Regions from separate parts of the Homo sapiens genome. Here all the other regions are linked to region 5. Evidence: promoter capture Hi-C in human tissues and cell types (Jung and others, 2019). All regions are on one chromosome and are shown on one strand. The core of a region is centred on a gene start or on the middle of the fragment in contact, and the rest is flanking DNA. Distances in the headings are between cores, read along the strand shown.

The links. The method cuts DNA at HindIII sites, captures the fragments that hold promoters and counts their contacts. A contact is called where the count stands out against the background at its distance.
Region 1: a fragment that was not itself captured here is called in contact with the fragment with the promoter of KIDINS220 in region 5 in 1 of the 25 tissues and cell types used here (dorsolateral prefrontal cortex).
Region 2: a fragment that was not itself captured here is called in contact with the fragment with the promoter of KIDINS220 in region 5 in 1 of the 25 tissues and cell types used here (dorsolateral prefrontal cortex).
Region 3: a fragment that was not itself captured here is called in contact with the fragment with the promoter of KIDINS220 in region 5 in 1 of the 25 tissues and cell types used here (lymphoblastoid cells).
Region 4: a contact is called between a fragment that was not itself captured here and the fragment with the promoter of KIDINS220 in region 5, in 1 of the 25 tissues and cell types used here (dorsolateral prefrontal cortex).

The regions. Positions count from the first base shown.
Region 1 is chr2:7,206,913-7,211,046 of GRCh38, forward strand. No RefSeq gene overlaps it. Among named protein-coding and RNA genes, the nearest start is that of GRASLND, 290 kb to the left of the region's middle. The HindIII fragment of the contact is 3,264 bases long and covers 634-3,897 here.
Region 2 is chr2:7,128,494-7,132,397 of GRCh38, forward strand. The region is part of intron 1 of LOC124908053 (a long non-coding RNA gene); the gene reads left to right. Among named protein-coding and RNA genes, the nearest start is that of GRASLND, 210 kb to the left of the region's middle. The HindIII fragment of the contact is 9,186 bases long and covers 1-3,904 here.
Region 3 is chr2:7,237,986-7,241,972 of GRCh38, forward strand. No RefSeq gene overlaps it. Among named protein-coding and RNA genes, the nearest start is that of GRASLND, 320 kb to the left of the region's middle. The HindIII fragment of the contact is 3,186 bases long and covers 1-2,912 here.
Region 4 is chr2:7,408,141-7,412,388 of GRCh38, forward strand. No RefSeq gene overlaps it. Among named protein-coding and RNA genes, the nearest start is that of LINC01871, 320 kb to the right of the region's middle. The HindIII fragment of the contact is 4,298 bases long and covers 1-4,136 here.
Region 5 is chr2:8,835,670-8,840,149 of GRCh38, forward strand. It overlaps KIDINS220 (kinase D interacting substrate 220), which reads right to left and starts at 1,944. Exons shown (of 30, transcript NM_020738.4): 1 at 1,811-1,944. RefSeq lists silencers at 2,001-2,060, 2,071-2,120. The HindIII fragment of the contact is 2,236 bases long and covers 1,284-3,519 here.

The sequences.
Region 1 (4,134 bases), core at 1,016-3,515, 1.6 Mb before region 5:
TGGAATCTTCTTTTGCTCTTGACATACACGTGCTTGTGAGGTGAGCTGCGAGCTGAAACACGGGTCCTAGCTAGAGCCTAGATGCAAATCTCTGCTCCATTCTTTAGTCATAATCCTACAACATTTAGTTCAATGTTTGGAGACTCAGCATCTTTACATCAAAATGGATGGTAAGAGCTACACAGTGGGTGCGATATGAAGATTGAATCAGACTACAAATGACCCCTGGTCCATGCCCGGCCTGTAACGGGGCCATTTGTAGTTTCTGCCGTCTGAGCTCCCGTGAGAGAAACCACTATCTTCCGTGTCTTCATAGACTAGGTACCTGCTAACCTACGCTAGACGCCCAAGTCATCTTCATTAAATAGCTGCACTTAGTCTCATGTAAGAAGGCAGCTTCTGGCTGCTTCTCTGCCGGGTAAGTTACAGAACATAGGACCTTGGAAAAGATCGTTCAGTCTGTGGTTAAAGGATGCTTCTAATGGGCTGTCTAGGAAAGTGATTAGAGCGTGTTTTGGGGTCATACAACCTGAATCAAATCCCAGGTCCTCTGCCTGCTATTCTGTAACCTTAATAGATGTTAAGTATGAGCCACAGTGTCAGGAGCCTATGACGCAGTGCATCCTAAGTGCTGAGTGGCACAGGGGATGTGAGTGGCACAGGGGATGATGTGAGTGGCACAGGGGATGTACTCTACAAACGCGGGCGGTTCCTGCTGCATTACTGAGTCTGCACTGGTAACCACAATGCTGAACTCACGGGCTGTGCTCCAAGTGCTATAGCAAGGCACCAGGCTCCATGTTGATGAGGCCTGTGTCTCACTCACTTTCTACTCGCAGACGCCTGTGGAGTCATTGAGCCTGCATTGCATTTTGACCTCAATGTTCTACTTAGTGCAAGAGTCCTGGCTGCAGGGCCCGTGGAAAGGATAACTTGGCCTCCTTAGAAGGCTTGCCAGGCAGTCACGGAACTCACCGCCTCACAGTGCTGTTGATTTCATCCAGTAAAACTTCCCTTTTGGAGAGTCTGTTTTTTATTTTATGAAGAAATCTTTATCCTCTCTCCAAATCAGTGCGTTTACTGACTTCTAGGGAAAAACAGAATTCTCCCTCCACCATATGACGGTCTTTGAGCATCTCAATGATTTCCTTTGGTTAAATACATTGCGGTGCATTTTATTGTCATTATTTTGAATATGCAAAGTCCTCTCTTCCCCCTGTCCCTGCTCCCCAGTTAGCATGTGTGTATTTAGACACAGAAAACTGGCCCCACTGTTAAGGATGAAATAAAAAGAAGAAGACAGCAGAGAAACTTCAGCTTTGCAATTCGAGCCTGGCCACTGCATGGTTCCAACCAGTCCCCATGGCCCTACGCTGCATCAGGCCACTTCATCTGCTGACAGCTGGGGAAGCTCCAGGTAGCAGATCTCCGTGCTTCCTCCCACTCCCACCGCCTCTCTGCCCAATCCCGTCTGTGGGAGCAGAGCCACACCAGCCAACTGCAGAGCTGACAGGCCTCAGGGGCCGGGGCAGTGGAGGTTTCAGAAGCCCACTGTCGTGTGTGCCATCATTAAAGCACTCTCTGTTGGCTGTCTCTAAAGAATCTTCTTTTGGAAAGGTGTAAACATGTTGGCCCATCAGAGGAAGCCATAAATCTCCCTGTATACATAGCAATACAGTTGCACCAAACGGAAGAAGAGCTCTTGCCAATCTCATGTTTCATTTCAACCTGGCCATCTGGGTTCAGACAGAACTTGGGCTAACAAGCTGTATACACCCACAGCAAAGAAGCATTCCACTGAATCTTCCAAGGCTACTAAATTTTTCATGCCAACATTTTTCAGTACACTATGATGGCAGCTACCCCTTCCCCTAATTTCTCCCCAAATTTAGCCCTAAAGACTTGCTATGGAATCTTCTTATGCAGATAATGAGAGCTAAGTCTACTGAGAGTCATGCAAAAAAAAAAAAAAAAAAAAGTGGCCAGAGTTCTTACCAAGAATATAGGCCAGAAGACCCCGCGTTGAGTTTACATGCTCTGATGCAGCAGCTGAGCAGGAGGCCGTTCTGATCTTCAGATAAACTCTCGGGTCGTTCCAGCATCAGGATAGCATCAGATTCTGTTTAAACTTTACTGGCTAAATTAATCCAGGGTCAATCATTGATGAGGCAGGTTCTACAGTGCTAAAGAAATCTCAAGAATATGATAGTAACCAACTTATATTCAGCGTTGAGGGTTCTTTATCTCAGATAAAATCCTACACTAGGCCGGTCTCAAGCCAGTGGTAGGTGCCTCAGTGGGGCCATGGCCCCTCTGAATCCAAGCTTGCCCATGTGACCCCATCTGCTGCTGAGAGCAAATGTTCATCTGGCATGCTGGAGGTGCAGCTTCAGAGGGCTTCCTGTGGGCTCGGATTACAGAAGACAGGTATAGAATATTTATATTGGTTCATTCAGCCTCCCAAGCAACTTTCTGAAGCAACCATCTATCATCCATCAAATAGATGCTAGTTCTGTGGGGTTTATAAAGAACTATAACAATGGTTAAGTTCAAATAATACAGCTGGAATATGCACATCTACTTGTTAACCCATTTATGCTGGAGGGTGCACTTTTTTTGTGTGTGTGAAAAATCAGACCTTGGTGATGACCTTGAGCAGTATGACATAAATAACTCCCACAAGCTTAGCGTTCCAATAATGGAACGCTAAGCATAAGTGGGTTAAAACCGTGCAAGGCAGGATGTTTTAACCAGATAACAACCAGCACAGAACCCTTGCTCAGAGTTCAGAGGAGGAGAGAGAGGTCTGTGATCCAGCAAGCAGAGAAGGGCTCATGGGGTGAGCCATGTGCATTAAGTCCTAAGGGAGGAATCTGAATAGAGGCCAGAGTGAGAAGCTCCTCAAAGAGCTAGGGTGTGGTCCTCTGCCCTGCTTCCCTGAATCCCTCAGAGCTGAAGGAGGTGAGCCAGGGCTTTAGCTGTTCTCTCTGGAGCTGTCTTGTTGCCTTGCTTTCAATTGCGAGTGCTTGAAGATTAAGCTAATGAGCTTTCCTGCTGAGGGCGGTGGGGAGCCAATGCCTCTGCCCTGGCACCCAGCCCTAGTTATTTTTCTTTTAAATAAAGGAACAGGCTGTCTAACATCAGGTGGAGACCTAGGTGCCTTGCACAGTCTCAGGTTGGAGAACATCTTTGCCTCGGGTGACAGATGGGCACATCATACTTCATCTCCCAGACCTCTGGACCCAGCCACACTGCACATATGACACTCGAGTTGGTGACACTCTGTCATCCATTCCCATTAATGTATGATAGAACTCAATCAGTCCAGCTGCCAGGGCAGCATCAGAGCGGAGTAGCAGGAAGCAAAGAAAACCACTTGGACCCCTGCATGACCTGCATTCTTTTCCTCCCAGGCCATACTTCAGTAAGGATTTCTTGCCAGCATAGCAGTATTTTGAATTCCCAGTTGATGATGAGGTTTTGAGTTGACCATGCAATGCCATTTATCAAACCCCTGCTCCTCTTTGGAATGCTGGCAGGCATGCTACATATTGACTGTGAAGCCCCAGCAAAGCACAACTCTGTTTTTGTTCAATGCTACTAAATTTGAAGGAGGTGTGTTTGTGGGTGAGTGTAAGTTTTGAAGGAAAACATTTCCTATTTTTGTATGGTTCTGCATGTCAGGTTTTTCTTCACCATTCTGTTGTTTATTGTGCTCTTTTCATTTTTTTTTGTGCTTTGTTTTGTATCTTGTTGCATTGCAATTGAGACTGACGTCAATTTTAAGACTCTAGAATTATGTCTTTATGGTAGACTTGCAAAAAAAACGTGACAAGGTTATTGGCACAAGAAGAGACTGTGGCCTAATACCACTGACAGACCATCTCACCCATGCTCTCCCTTACTTCTTAGTAACAGGACTAATTTTATTATGTGCCTGTCTACACCCTGCATTTCCCAGCTTTTCTTTAAGCTCAGTATAGCCGTGATGCTCAGCTGTGACTAATGAGCTATAAATGTGTATTACATATGACTTTGGGGCAGCACCTTAAGATGGAGTGGGTGAGCCATATTCTCCTTCTATCCAGTCCCATATGAGAATGTGCTGCTGGGACCAGGAGGATGAGGACAGTA
Region 2 (3,904 bases), core at 583-3,082, 1.7 Mb before region 5:
AGAATACAAAATTTTTTAGTCCTACTTGGAGGAGATAAAGTGTTGTATGCACCGACACTGTTATCACTGCGCATTGCGAGCTCTCTCCTGAAGCTCTTTGCTTACTGCTTTTCTGATTGATCAGCTTGTTGTTCTGTTTACTCCTGGTCATGGATCTCTGTAATTGACCACATGATTTGGAGTCCTTATGTTTGTTTTCACTTTGATATTTTCTTAGCGTCCATTAAACACATGTTTACTGAGATCCTCTGTATGCCAGACACTGTACTAGGTTCTTAGTATAGTTTAGTGGATAAAACTGACATGGTCTTTGACTTTATGAAATTTGAAATTTGCAACAGTCCAACTTTGCCTCCCGGCTTTCTGTGTATAACCACAGGTCGGAGGCACCCTTCACTCAGGTCTTCTGACTTCCCAACTTCAGCTAGGTAAAATCATCCTCTGCCTACTGTTTTCCCATGAAGAAATTAGACATGTAAAGGAAAATGAGGCCTGAGCTGGGAGAAGATTTATATAAAAATCCACTCCATTTGTATCCCAAAGTTGTAAAATAGAATAGGAATTTTTATATTATTTTTGTAGTCAGAGTATTTTAGAAGGAACTAATATAGGTTGGAAAATTTGCTAACTTTGGGGTGACTTTGCAAAGAAATTTATAGGATCAATAAAAATATATGTATCTCTTTGATTTTACTTTTGTAACTCTTTCAACAAAGATATAGGTGAGTGGATGGAATATATGTTCATATATCTTCAACTATATTGTCTTGAATCAAGAAAACTGTCTTGTCTTCACAAAGAAACACTGGAAGATGCACTTCCTGTTCTTTTTCAGCACTATTCAAAATATTTAATAGCTGGTGCAGCACTGAGCACCAACTAGTCAGAATGGCTGTGGTTTTTGTTTTATGTTTTTTAAAGCTATTTGTGATAATATTTGCATGCTGGTGGGATAGCAGGGGAGCACTGGTGTAGGAACACAACTCCCAGTAAAATCACTGGGTTTCGAAGAACATCTTATTTTTCTTTTTTGGAGCAGGAAAACTATAGTAATGTAGGACTCCTGCTTAGGCAATGTCTTAGTTCATGCTGCTATAACTGAATACTATTGACTAGGTGACTTAAACATCAGCAATTGATTTCTCACAGTTCTGGAGGCTGGAAATCCAAGGTCAAGGCACTGGCAGATCTGGTGTTTGGTGAAGTTGCCCTTCCTGGTTTGCAGATGGCTGTTTTATCATGGTACCTTTACGTGATGGGGGGTCGAGGAGAGTAAGCTCCCTTATTTCTTCTTATAAGTGCACCAATCCCATTCACTGGACTCTACCCTCATGACCTAATTACTTCCCATAGGCCCTACATCTGAATACCAACACATTAGGAATTTCGGCTTCAGCATTTGAATTTGAGAGTAGAGGAACAGCACACACACTCCATTCATAGCAGCAGTGCATAACTTGAAGTTTGAATTGATTTCTATTCCCCTGTCTAGTGGATTGTCTTTAGCTGGATGATGATGGTCTGGTCCATTTAGTAACATCTCTGGATTCTGTTAGCAGATTTGAATCTCAGTTGCAGCCCTCAGCAACGACATGTTCTTGGGCAAATTATTTACACTTTAGAGGCTTAGTCTCCTAAACCACAAAATCGGGGCAATGTTATTTATCTTGCCCAATTGCAGTGCAGTTGAGACAGTACAAAACATGCAAGATGCCTGCATGGTCTAGCAAAAGTAGAGACTTTGTAGTGGTTCTTCTTATAAATATTAATAAAACAAAGTTAAAGTTGGCTTTTCAATAAAATCCTGCTTCCCTTGGAGGCAGTCTTTGAATGTGAAATAGTCTAAAAAACAAGCTAATTCTGTAGCCAGTGCAAATATTAATTAGCAGTCTAGCAAGAAGCAGGTCACAATGCTGAATGTCAGTGTGCTAAAATGTCTGCTAGTTTCAAGACAGTAGCACCTTGCTAATTTGTCATCAAGGGGCCCCTGGAGCTAAGAGAGATGACAAAAATCTGTGTGAAGAAGAAATTCTCACAGATTAAATCAAACTTCTGCAGTTTTATAAAAATGTGCTACTTTTGTTAGCTTTGCTTTGGAGTTTTTAATGCTATTCACATAATTGGCAGTGTTCTTCTAGAGGTGAACATTTACTTCTTCAATTACAAAAATTGGTAAATATTGTTTTTCCATCTAAAGGGGCAAAAGTCTGCACATTGTGGACCTGACACTAGAGACTTAATCCAACAGAAATTTCTCTCTGAATTTTGGTTGAACCATCTAGACATTTTCACCTGGCTCTGTCATCAAAATGAACACATTATGTTACTTTATCAGAAGAATTTAAAGATGCTTTGGTATTGTCACATAAGAATAGAGAAGTTTAACAGATTAAACCTAATGAGAAAGTTCACATTTTCAGAAGTAGATATTATGTGTTGAAAAGAGCCAACATTTTGAATTCAGATAATTCTCAGTGTCATTTCTTATTTTAGACTCGGTATATGAACTTGGGCCAGATACATAAAATAGGGAAAATTTTTCCTGCCTTATAAGGTTGATAGAGGTGAAAAGTGCAAACTGCTGGAACATACAAGACATAATTTTTCTTACAGATGTCTTTTAATATCACTGGAAAGGGAAAAACAGTCTCAGGTAGCAATTATCTCCTTGATTACAACTTTTCACCATCACAAATATTTAGAGACTTAGAGCTTCCCAGCAGTACCTGCAAAGGCCTACTCAAGACAGACAGGTACTCAGTTTTCAAACAGCAACTTGGTGGGAATTCAACTTACCAATATTTTGGGGTAGGAGCTTGGCTTTTCCAAGTGGCCTAGTGCACAAGTCTCAAGATAGATACGCTGTTAACAAGTAGGGCTTGGATTTGAAGTCTTATTCAGAGTGTTAGAGTAAGCACATTCCATATGCGTACTCTAAACCAGAATAAAAACCCTGGCAGGCTCTGCAGGATCTCACACCACCACGTTGCTCCTTTTGTTGATAGAAGACCTGCTTCATACCAACAGTACCAACATTTTAGGTGGGAGGCAGACCTGGGCTGAGGAGGCAATGCCACGCTGTTTAAATGTGAGAACCTGGGACCTAGGCTCTGTCTCAGTTCTGCCTGCAAACTTGAACAAGGCGTGCAGTTTCTCTGTAGTAAATTTCCTGATCTGCCAGGCCTCTCAGAGCTTGCCACTCTGCTCCCTGATCCTACAGTTCAGGAAAATGCATCTGTGCAAGTCTAGGTTTGCGTTGGAAAATTGCTCCTTCAATAAAGAAATAACAAAGGAGTGACTAGCTTGTAGATGCTACTGTATGAAAGCTTTCAGTAGTCAGAAACAGCATATTCTAACTGGGCTCATTTACATGTTTATTAGAGTTTATACTAAAGGAGACTCGACTGACAGTTTTGCCAGTGGGACAGTCTTCTGCTATACATGTCTACAATTTACATTTTCCCTGTTTTTGGCAAACAATACAATTCTCCAATTGAGACATTTATGTTCTATAACACTTTTTGTGTTTTTTTGGCCATAATTAGTATTAAGATGCTCTCGTTTACCTCCCAATGTTAATGCATAATTATGCACACTTAATACTTTGTTTTTACTTATAAACGTTGGTTATAAAGGTTTACTAGTCATTTTTACAAAGTTCTTTAGAGTAGTCAACTTCTTTGTTCCAATGGGAAATTATTTATAACCCCAAGCCATAAAATAGATAATAACATCTAACATTTTTTCAGTGCACGTTTTGTGTCTGACCCTTTACTAAGATATTTAACTCATATAATCCTCATAATAAATCTACAAGTTTAGGAAGGTAGCCTTATTATTCCCAATTTATAGATGAAAAAAACCAATGCAGTAAGATATTAACTGTCCTGTTGAAAGCTATAAG
Region 3 (3,987 bases), core at 70-2,569, 1.6 Mb before region 5:
GCATTATTGTTTTAGGAGTTTTCTTCTTTGTTTCCTTTCTAAGTATCTAAGAAGAGTGTCCTAAAGGAAATCTGTATGAGAATTTGGAATTCTTTCTTTATTCTATTCTAGATTTTATCAATGAAGTCAACATAAAATGAGTGTGTTCATTAATCTTTGAAAAATAAGAATTCCTTCTGAAATTTAAAAATTCCTGATCAATGACAGTGAAGGACACAAAAAGAGATACGGTCTTAGTATATTCCAGCTGCTACAGCAAAAATACTGGGTGGCTTATAAACTACAGAAATTTATTTCTCACAATTCTGGAGGCTAGAATTCCAAGATCTAGGTGCCGGCAGATTTGGTGTCTGGTGAGGGACCGCTTCCTGATTCATGAGTGGCTGCTTCTGGCTGTATCCTCACACGGTGGAGGAGGTAATGGTCTGTCCTGGGCATCTTTTATGAAAACACTAATTCTATTCATGAGGTTGTCATCCCCATGATCTAATCACTCCCTAAAGATCTCATCTTCTAATACCGTCACCTTGAGGGTCAGGATGTCAACCTATGAGTTTTGTAGGAACACGAACATTCAGACCCACTGTGATTTTTCAGTACAAGGTGGATCCCGCTGCCCTCTCCTCAGGAGCCTCTGATCGTGCCCACTCCTGACAAAGATGGCATGTTTGGTCCTCTATTCAATGATGTTTCTTACTGGGGACATTAGGAAGCCCTTACTATCACATTAAGAAGCCCTCACTATCACATTTTACCATTTCATATTAAACTCCGAATCTTTTAAAGTAGGTTTTAAAAGTCATCTATAAGGCCTGAGACAAGCTTTATAATGAAGCTTCCAGGGAAGGGGGGTATGCAAGAAATTGGATTACATCTTTTGGTGTTAAATTGTTTTGTCTCTTTTAGAACACTTGGAATTGAGTTGAATTCTCCAAGGCAAGGAAAATATTAATGTACACCTATTGGTGAATCCTGAAAAAAGAAAAAATAAAACAAATGATTTTAATCCTCACTTTTCATGTCTCTATAAAACATGTATCAAAGGATATAATTTATTTCCAGCTTTCATAAATTCATAGTTTTGTGGGGAAAAATCCGTTTGCTTTATGAAACTGCACAGTCCAAATTGAACCAATAACTAATATCCAGGTGTATTAAAGGGAAGTTATAAATTGCTTTCACTTTCTATATTCTTCAATGAATAGGGAAAATATGGATTAAACCACCTAAATATTTAGTGATGATGTAATTGGAGAGTTTAACTCATGGAGTGGAAATCAGAAATGCAATGTTGACATTTTTAGTAGTAATTCGCATTATAGGAAAGGAAGACATTCTTTTTTTTTTTTTTTTCTTGATAGGGTCTCACTCTGTTACTGAGGCTGCAGTGCAGTAGTGCAATCACAGCTCACTGCAGCCTTGACCTCCCCAGCCTCAGGTGATCCTCAGCCTCCCAAGTAGCTGAGACTACGGGTGCATGCCACCACACCTGGCTAATTTTTTGCAGAGATGGGGTTCCACCCTGTTGCTCAGGCTTGTCTTGAACTCCTGAGCTCATGCAGTCTGCCTGTCTCGGCCTCCAAAAATGCTGGGATTACAGGCATGAGTTACCATGCCTGGCCTCAGGAAGATGTATTCTTTAAGTTATAAGTGATGTAGGATTATGAAATAATATAAAAGTAAATAGACAAAGCAAAATAGAATAATATGAAAATACAATAGCTGCCATTTTTATAATTATCCCCAATTTACAGATGAGGAAACTGAGGCTTGAAGAGAATACTTAATTTGACTGATACCATAAAACTAGTAAGTAGAAGAACAAGAATTAGAAGCCAATTCTGTCTCCAATACCTGCGTTCTCACCACTACACATATTGCTTTCTCCTAAAGAAGCAATGGTGTCCCCTACCTGAGACAGGCAGTGCTAATTTGTCAATACCTGTAAGAAAGAAAAGAAGGGTCCTCAAAGCATATCAGAATATTCACATGAATGTTAGAATCATGAGATCACTGGCCGGATTCAGGCCAACCTAAAGAGTAAAGTTTTTAAAGAAAAAGTAGATCTATCTAAGAAAAAAAAATGTATAAACTTGGATTTTGAAGCTAGTTTTAAAAATGAATATCCAACAATTAATTACAATTTAAATTTGATTTGGGTGTGCTTCTCTAGTTACTGTGCCTGTAACTGCATCCTGAGGGGTTCACGAGCGCGCGAGGGCCTGACTATGCACCTGGCTCTGGCAGCCGGGAAGCTTTGGATAATTAAAGTGGATGCAGTCCATTTTCTAAGCAGGGTACTTTATGGGATCAGAGTTAAATTTCTATGCCAAATGGTAAAACTCTGAGGTCCAGCTCACTGTGAACAAGACCCTGTTGTCTCTAATCCTCAGTCGGCTAGCATAACCCATCTCCAGCGATCAGCTCCCTTAGAAGGTAAGCTGCCTCATGTCAGTTAGTGTGGTACCCAGAAGAGAAGCATCTTTTCCTCCACTGGCTTCTGTAGGCCGAGGAGGAACTGCAATGGTTGAAAGGGTCTCTAGAGATGCCTTCAGAAGTTGGGCACAAGGCAAATGAGGGGTTAAGAGCAAAGTTAAAAAAAAAGAAGACAATTTTATATATATATATATATATATATATACACACACACATAAATAAAATTATATAATCACAGCATCTGAATACATATGCAAAGATAATTACGTAATATTTTAATATATATTTATATATAATTTTAACATTATTATATTAAAATAATTATATATAATCACAGCATTTTAGTCAATTGCTAGACAAAGTGTGTTAAATAGCAGTTTTGTAGTTTTATTGAAATTAAATCAGAATTAAGGTGATTTTAAAAAAAGAAAAGTGTTAAAAGAAAAACTTCAGTTTAATTAAATTTAAAGGAGTTTAAATGAGCAATGAATGATTTGTGAATTGGGCAGCCCCCAGAATCACAGTAGATTTAGAGAGACTCCAGTGGAGTCCTGTGGTGAAAGAAAATCTGTGGACAGTGAAAGGCGAGTAACGTAAAGAAAATGGAAGTGAGGTACAGAAACAACTGGATTGGTTACAGTTTGGCGTTTGTCTTATTTGAGCACAGTTTGAGCATTTGGTGAAATTAAGGTTAAATATAAATATAAATACATTTCATAATTCTGAGCAGGGAGTTTTATAATTTAAAAGGAATGCTGAGGACATCTGAGGTCCAGCTCACTGTGAACAAGCTCCTGTTGTCTCTAATCCTCAGAGTTGGCAAGCATAACCCATCTCCAGAGATCAGCTTCTTTAGAAGATAAACTGCCTCATGTCAGTGTGGTACCCAGAAGAGAAGCATCTTCTTCTCCACTGGCTTCTGTAGGCCTTGGAGAAGCTATTTCAAAATGGGCTATGTGAATAATGGGTTATGTGATTCATTTTGAATGTCAATTTGCCAACCTGGTCAGGTGGGTATTAAATTTTTTATGACATTCTAAATAGATAACCATGATATAGCAGATCTTCCAGAGCAGGGCAGGCGTCACCCCTCTAGCTACATCATCTCTAATGCTAAAACATTTAAAGAGGAAGCTTCTTTTTCTTCTAGGAGTCATTTGCCTATGAGGTCAGAATGGATGAAGCTCTGGAGTCATGACTGCAGTCAAGATGCCGTTCATTGTTTCTTTCCTTTTTCTTCTTTCTACCCAACAGTACATAACATGTAGGATTCGAATCCTCCAATATTTGAAAGCTTTCACTGTCTACCCACTATGTACAATCCAGAGCTTTGGGAATCTCGTTCTATGCCAAGCCTTTAGTCTTCTGTTCTCCAAGAGCCTAATTATGGGGTCTATTTCACTCTGCGTCCTTGGCTTTATGTATTCCCCACCATCTCTGTCCTGTTCTCACACTTCCTCAAATATCACTCACTTCACTTCAACCTGGGCCTTCCTCTCCCAGAATCAAGCATGATATTCTCAGTATTTATAGTACAGCCTACTGCACTAC
Region 4 (4,248 bases), core at 738-3,237, 1.4 Mb before region 5:
CTTTTATGCCTTTATCATCAAACACTACTCATGAAAAAATCACCAGGTTTGCCTAGGTTCATCTGTTCAATTTATTTTTCCCAAACTTTATTTTGAATAAAACACCTACGGTAAATGTGATTTATGTAAATGAATAAAACAAAACTGTTATATAAGCTTTTTTGACATCATTCAGTCCCATCCTGTCGGGGCGCCACTATACAAAATCCTCTGGCAGCATGTTTTCCATAGGATTATATTATTTCTGAAATCGCAGAGCCAAAGAGATAAAACTATAATATACTTTCAAATGCTTTAATTTAATTTTTTCTCTTCTCTCCCCAAGCTTCCCATATGGAGGAACTCCAATATTTTAAGAGAAGCTTTTACTTATGAGAATCTTGCAGCACTATTCCAAGTGCCTGTAGCTATTCCTCTCTCTCATACTCTCTGCCTTTCTCTATTTTTCTCACACCTCGCTCCCTGATTTTATTTAAAGAATGGCAATCTATCTTTCCTTCCCCCTCCCTCCTTTATTGTTATATTTTCTTACTTTCTACCCCCTGGGACCCTGAATGGAAGAATTTTCATTTTCCAAGCTGGTGCTAGGGGCCAAGTCCTGTGCCCTGGATTGACACACATCATCTCACGTATTTCACAGGATGCACAGCCCTGGCAGGTGTTCTTATCTCCACTGGGCAGATGGGAAATGAAGGCTTGGGAAGCTGAAGGGCCTGCCCGGCTCAAGGGCACAGCACTAGACTAACGGTGGTGCCACTGAACTTGGGGACATCCATGTGTATGCAGGCCATCTTGGAGGATGAAGGCCTTTGCGCTCACTCTTCCACTGATGGAGACCACTATGTGTAGTTAATGCCCTGGGTAGCAAGCCCTGGCTTCTGCTAACCGAGGCTCACCACATGGGAGACCCAATGGGTCATTTCATCCTGAGGAAGCTCCCGAGGGCCTAAATGTCAGCCTGCACTGGCTCCTTTGTTCCATAAGGCAAGGAAACTGAGTCCCAGAGAGAAGGTCACGGCCTTCCCAAAGCAACACATCTAGCAATACGAAGTGTGTGATAATGAGATCCTTGAGCTCTGTGTGCAGCATGCATTTCCTTATCACCTAACACTCAATTGAAGACCCACACTGGCCCCAGAATGAAGAAGTAAACCACTGATTAATTCACTAAATATTAGTTTACAAGAACTTCTTAAAGTACATGTGTTATATCAAATGAGGTAATAGACATTTACATTTAACATACTATATGAAAGCTTTTTCAAATTATACATTAGTTAAATACATGTTATTTTGGTTGTTGTAAATGTGAACATTTAAGAACAAAAGTGAATTAAACTTAATCCTTCCATCATAAACAAATGTCAGCTGGCTTGGGTACCTTTGGCTCATTTTTATCATGTTTGTTGAGAGCTCTGTCTTTTATCAAAAGTTGAATTTGCATTACTATTGATAAATCCTCTACAAGATTTTTCAAAGAGTTCTTTAAATTTTGTTGTAATTTCAGACACAATATTCAAGCACTGAACTCTTCAGCCCAGTGATTTTCCTGTGGATTACTCATCAGAAGATACACACTTACTATAGTAACTCCAGAGGCTATAAATCCCTGGAAAGTTCATTCGAATGAAATTTCTATATCCTCATTTTCCTAGTACCAGGATAGAAAGTATTGAATATTTCTGAAAGTCTCTCTCACTGCAGAATAGCAGGCAAAATTAAAAAAGAAAAAAACCAAAAAAAACACACCAAGATTCTTGAGTAGAGAAGAGCTAGAGATAGGCTGATATTTTTCATTCCATAATTCCTGGTGAAACTGCTTAGCCTAAAGGTAGTCATGAGAACACTTAGTCCCAATGTATACTGTATCTCTGAGATGGTAACTGCGAAAGAGTAGTTGTACATTTGGTGGCCACTAAGCAGATATCATGAGCATTACTGTTTTAATACTTACTTCATTTGCTCAGAATTCATGCTCAGCATCAGTGTTTGGGGATCTGTTTTTAATTATGAAAACTGAGGTCCTATATTGCTTTTGTTCTTCTCTTTTTGCCACATTTCTGCTGCAGGGGAAAAATGTGCTCTCAACAGCCTGAAAACCTGGCTGAGGACTCCTTCCTAGCTCAGCCCCTGATGCTCATAGGGAAAGGATCAACATAAAATCATTTCTGTTTCAAAGTGCAACTTACTCCTCATAATAATTGCTATCCTAAATAAGGTGGCAGTTTTTTTTTCTCCTACACAGTTGGTATTTGGCATTTAACAATGCAACGCCTTACCTCATTCACTGCCTAGACAATGAGAGCTTTAAAGTGTTAGAGTCATGGAAGACTTTCTGAAATGTCTTACCTTAATTTACAGTGAGGAGCTAAGAAAGGTTGGCCAGGAAAAGGCAGAGGCAAAATCCTGAGTCCAGAGTCATAGTCTAGCAGCAGGGGCCCCTGGATGCACCATTGCTTTACACACATGAGGTGTTCCACATGGATCATGTAGCAGTTGGGCAAAGAAGGTGTCCTCCTTGTATTGTAGCTGATAAAGCAGAAGCTTAGAGATGCAAGTGACTTGCTCAATTCCTGCTTCCAGCACATTCAGGTATTCTCACACCTGGATCTCTGCTCTCTTTCCTCTTTCTGCATCTTAATTCCTTTCCAGATTTGTGCCCATTTTGCTTCAGATTTGGTGTCACACTCATAGAGATTATTGGATTGATCTATTACTCAATATTCTCCCAGAGAGAATTGCAGCCGGCAGGAACATTCATTGTAGACCCAGGTGTTAGTGAACAAGCTCTACCTTCAACCCTGTTCTGGACTAGCAAGTAATGAATTACACATTTAATTTCAGTACTCCAGTTGACCCTTGATTCCCTCAGTTGGCAGAATCCATTTTCCTAGACTTTAGAACAAGAAAGAAACACTTGTTCTCTCCCAAAAATACCCAAGTCAACAAATGAAAACATGAACCTCAAAGGATGACTTCAAGCCTAGAGTCTCGAGGAAGAGGACAGAGTGGTTTTGGGAGTTATTTAACCACTCTAACCATATTTCCTCTAATAAATGAGTATGCTAGTGCTTAATATACCACATTCTTTTGAGAACTATTTAAGTTAATGCACTCAAAGTTGCTAATATTCTCACCAGTGCAATGGAGAGCATTGTAGTACTTTGAGATGACATTGCTTTCACCAACTGAGCCAATCCTACTCCTACGTTTGTTTCTATTGCCATGTAAGTTAATGTAGGTTTAAAATCTCAGGCTTCCAAGAAAGAGTACTAGAGTCTCAGGAACTACCCTCATTTCTACCTTGCACTTCCTATACTCCATGCCTAATTCTCTAGGTTCTATTTGAGATATGACTCCTATATGTAACCACACTCTCCAGCCCTGATCTCAGTTTCGCTGTGGAGTTTTAAGGCCTCTATTGTCAAGTATTCATTATTATTTCACATGTGTGCAATTGCAGTTGCCAGCAGTGTCTTGCAACTCTGACCCCCTTTTTTAAATAAATATTTTAATTATGTTTTGGGTTTCTAGTAAAATTGAACAGAAGGTGCAGGTATTTGCCATATTTTCCCTGCCCTCACATATACATAACCTCCCACTATCAACATCTTTTACCAGAGTGGGAAATTTGTTACAATTGATGAACCTATATTGACACATCATTAGCACCCCAAATTCATACATGCCATGGCTTTGGATAAATCTGTAATGGCCTGTATTCACCATTATAGTATCATACAGAACAGTTTCACTTCCCCAAAAAATCCCCTGTGATCCACCATTCATCATTCCCTCTCCCCAGCCCCTGGGAACAATTACATTTTTTTCTGTCTCCACAGTTTTGCCTTTTCCAGAATGCCATTTACCTAGAATCATATCTTATGTAACCTTTTCAGATTGGCTTCTTTTACTTAGTAATGTGCATTTATGTTTCCCCCATGTCTTTACATGGCTTAAAGTTTTTTTTTTTTGTATTAAATAGTATTCTATTGTCTAGATTACCAGTTTGTGCATTTACCTACTGAAGGACACCTTGGTTGCCTCCAAGTTTTGTTAATTATAAATGAACCTGCTATAAACCCCATGTGCAAGTATTTTTGTGGACATAAGCGTTCAATTCATTTGGATCAGTGTCAAGGAACATGATTACTGGATTATATGGTAAAAGTATGTTTAGTTTTGTAAGAAACTGCCAAACTGGCTTAGAAAGTGGCTGTGCCATTTTGCATTCCCATCAGCAATATA
Region 5 (4,480 bases), core at 694-3,193:
AAAAAAAAAAAAAGTTGCCCCAGGGAGATGTAGAAAATGGAGGTACCTGGGATCCTGACTTCTTTCTGACTCTCATTCAATCCTATTATCTCCTTTTCCTTGAAGTAAAAGGTTTAAGTTTCTACTGTCTTCTAAACAGCCCTGACAAATACAGTAGCACATAAAATGGAGAAACTGACCGTTCTTGAGCAAAAGCAGGAAGAAGGGGATGGCACATTCATACATGATCCTATAAAAATTAATCTGGCAGTGTATGTGACCCAGACTGGAAAAATACAAAGAATCAGGGCCCTAGATACCAGTCAAGGAATCACCAGACAGTACACAAGAGAGGCAGTGGGAATAGAGAAGAAATGAGGGATATTAACTTGAAAAATATAAAATCCCTGACATTTGAACTTTCTGAACTACCAAAATATCCAGAAGAGATATTCTGGATATAAAGATAAAACTATGTGACTGGTTGGAAAAGAAAACAGGTGGAAGATGACCAGATGCCCAGCATAGGTGACTGAAGAATGGAGCTGCCCTTAACCAAAAAAAAAAAAGCAGGAGAAAGAGCAGACTTTTCTCTACTTAAGTTATGCCTCCTCCCTTCCACCACCCCAGCTGGGCGAATGGGGCTTTGGCCAGGCTGAATTTGAAGTGTCCCAAAAGAACTAGGTTGGAGAAACCCACCCAATACTTGGAAAAAGATACCGTTCACACTGTGTGTGAATGATCTGGAAATTATTCACACAAAGGGTGTAGAACAAGGATTCTCAAACTTGTGTGCACCAAAATTATTTGGGAAGCTTGTCAAATACACATATCCCTTGAGCTCCTCCCCGGGAGAATCCCATTCCCTAGATCTGGGGTGGTGCCCAGAAACTGACATTTTAACAAGCACCCCAAAATGATTCTGATGAAAGTAGTCCATGCTAGTAAAGCTAGAAGAGAACAAAGAACACACCTGGCCACGGCATTTCCCAACCTGGGCTCTGCACTCAATACCCCACGGTGGTTTAAAAAGGTGTAGATGTCTGGTCCTCAGTGTTGTCAAAATGTGGACAGGAACGAACCTGAAGGGGTGATTCCCGAGCCACACCTCAGGCCGAAGGAATGGGAATCTCTAAAACGCTAAGAAATCTACATTTTTAACAAGCGCCCATAGGGAGCAGAGATGGCTGCATAGTTATTCATAAAAAAATTTTTCATCGGTTTAAACCTGTCAACTTGAAAGAATAAAAATTCCAACATTACAAAGTGATGAAGAAATTATTTCCCTATAAATAAATCTTGGAGGCGTGGAAATCAATGGCTTGCACTATTTTGCCAGGCGTTTAAAAGCCTGCACAGGACAATGGAGCAATGGAGCCCACGATAAAAGCAAGGGAGAAAACAACACCTCCCGGCCCGTGGAAGCCTAGGAGGAGGAACCTAGAAAGACTAGCGGTACCAGCTAAGGGGGCTCTCAAGGTGGTGGATGTGCCAGAGGCTGCTTGGCAAAAGAAAAAAAACGGTTTTACCAACACCCTTCACCCCAACCCACCCGAGGGGCCCCTCAGGAGACAGACCACCAGAGACTCCAAGGTCGGAGACCTTCCCGGCGCTCCAGGAAACGCGGACTCGCCCCGAAAGCCGGGGCCCGAGCGTCCGGGGCCCGCGCCATGCCCTCCCCGGGACCCCCGGTCCGAGCTCGCCCCTTCCGCGCACTCCTCGGCTGTCCCACCTCCCCGCCCGACTCCCCGAGCCCGGCCTCGCCCCCGACTCCTCCCCAATCCCGCGGCAAAGCTTCGCGGACCGGCCTCCACACTGACGGTCTCCCAACCTGGTCCTCAGCTCCGGCGGAACGGGCCCGCTCGGCTGCAGGCGATGTCAGAGGACGGGGAAGCAAGAGACGGCGACTGCAAGCGCGTCGCCCTCACCACACCCGGCGGCCATATTCTTCCCTCTCCGCGAACTGACAGATCACGTGCCCTGGGTAGGGGAGGGACTCCGGGTTGCCACGCCCCCTGGGCGTGGAGGGGAGGGGCGGGGCGGGGCGTAGAGCAGGCGGGGCTGGAGGGGCCGCGGGGCGGGGACACCCAGGACAAGCGCCCCAGGCAAGGTTTTTCAGTGTCAATGTCACTCTTATTACAGTTAATTTATTATCCCTATTTTCCATTATAATCAAGCTTATTCAGAGAAATAAACATCAATTATATCTTCAGAAGAAACTGCACATACATAAGAAATGAAAGCCCGCTCAGCAGCCTTCTTCCGGATCCAGGAGCGAGACCTCTGCCTTTCGCGGGGCCTGTAGTTCACACTCCTTCCAGGTCTCCCAGCACCTCCCCTCACCTCCTTCAGCCTCCACATTCCTAGGCCTTGCTGCCAACAAGCGTCAATCTTGATTTTTGAAAAGGTCCAAGGATGATTACGACGTGCGTAGGTTGCGAACCATCGAAAAGCACCCACCAATGTGTCAACCTGGCAACTCAGGAAAAAGCCAATAAGGAGCCTGACTTCATCAGAAGTTGGTGCGGGGTGGGGACAATGGCTCACTCCTGTAATCCCAGCATTTTGGGAGGCCAAGACGGAGGATCACTTGAGCTCAGGAGTTTGAAACCAGCCTGGGCAACATGGAGAGACCTCTTCTCTACAAAAAAAAAAAAAAAAAAAAAAAATACAAAAATACAAAACTTAGCCAGGCGTGGTGTTGCACACCTGTAGTCCCAGCCACTTAGGAGACAGAGGTGAGAGGATCACTTGAGCCCAGGAGTTCGAGGCTGCAGTGAGCTGAGATCACACCACTGCACTTCAGCCAGGGCAACAGGGCAAGATCCTATCTCCAAACAAACAAACAAACAAACAAAAACGGAAGTTGGTGTGCCCCTCATGAAACAAGGAGCGAACACCCCAACGTGTACAGTGGAGTCCTAAATGGTGTGATTTCTTCGATAATGACTTGCTAAGGCCAGCCACTGTTGTAAACAGGGCAGGGTGGGTCAGGCGTTGGGGGTTAGAAGTATGGTAGGTGTATTAGCCCGTTTTCACACTGCTATAAAGAACCACCTGAGACAGGGTAATTTATAAAGAAAAGAGGTTTAATTGACTCACAGTTCTGCATGGCTGGAGAAGCCTCAGGAAACTTAAAATCATGGCGGAAAGGGAAGCAAACACGTCCTTCGTCACATGGCTGCAGGAAGAGAGGTGCCCAGCAAAAGGGTCAAAAGCCCCTTTTACATCCAACAGATCTCGTGAGAATTCACTCACTATCACGAGAACAGCACGGGGGAAACCGCTGACGTGATCCAATCACCCCCGACCAAGTCCCTCCCTTGACACGTGGGGATTATGGGGAATACAATTCGAGATGAGATTTGGGTGGGGTCACAGAGCCAAACCATATCAGTAGGATATAAGGATGAAGCCAACCTTAGAGTAGGGGAGAAGACAAGGAAACAGGTTAAATGTGCGTTATTTAGCACAGCCTTTCTGAGTCCTGACCATGTCCTAGGCACAGTGCAGTAAGGAGGTAAGCACAGAGGATGGAGTTACCAACTCTGCTTGGGGTCCACTAGGAAGGTTCACAAAAGAAGGGACCCCCCCCCCCCGCACCTCCAGCTGTATCTGAAGTATAGTTTGTCCATCACATCAGTTGGATGGGGCTAGGAAGAATGTCCAGGTCGGGGAACAACACTTTGGAAAAGAATAGAGATGAGAAGGAGGGTGGCCCAAAGTTCCAGGAACTGTCAATATTTGCCAGCCTTGGGGCTGGGGTGGCAGCATGGGAGGGGGCAGTAGATGGAGCAGGGGTCAGCCTCTGAAGGGCCTTGAGTGTTAAGTACCATTTGGGAATTTGTTCTAGGGAAATAGAAGGCCACTGAAGGGATTAGAAGAGTATCAAATTTGTCCTATGGAAATAGAAGGCTGCCTCCCCCAGCATCCACTACCCTTCCCACCACCCCCCAACCCCATCTTTCCTCAGCCTCCAGCTGTTTCCCTCAATCCCCTCCATCCTCCTCTTATCCTCTCACTGCTTCCTCCACCCTCTGCCCCCACATCCTCCCCCAACTCTCCCCACACCCCTCTTCCTCCCATCCCCCCCTCTGTCCTCCCGTCTTCCTCCAGCCACCCAAGCCTCTCCAATCCTCCCACCACTTCCCCTAGTCCTCCTTCTGTCCTCCCTCATCCTCTTCCCTCCCTCTCTTGGTAGCACAGTTTAGCACTCCCTCCTGGAAATATTTCTTTTTTTTTTTTTTGGAGACAGAGTCTCGTTCTGTTGCCCAGGCTGGAGTGCAGTGGTGCGATCTCAACTCACTGCAAGCTCTACCTCCCGGATTCACGCCATTCTCCTGCCTCAGCCTCCCGAGTAGCTGGGACTACAGGCGCCCGCCACCGCGGTCGGTTAATTTTTTGTATATTTAGTAGAGACGGGGTTTCATCGTGTTAGCCAGGATGGTCTCGATCTCCTGACCTCATGATCCGCCCGCCTCAGCCTCCCAAAGTGCTGGGA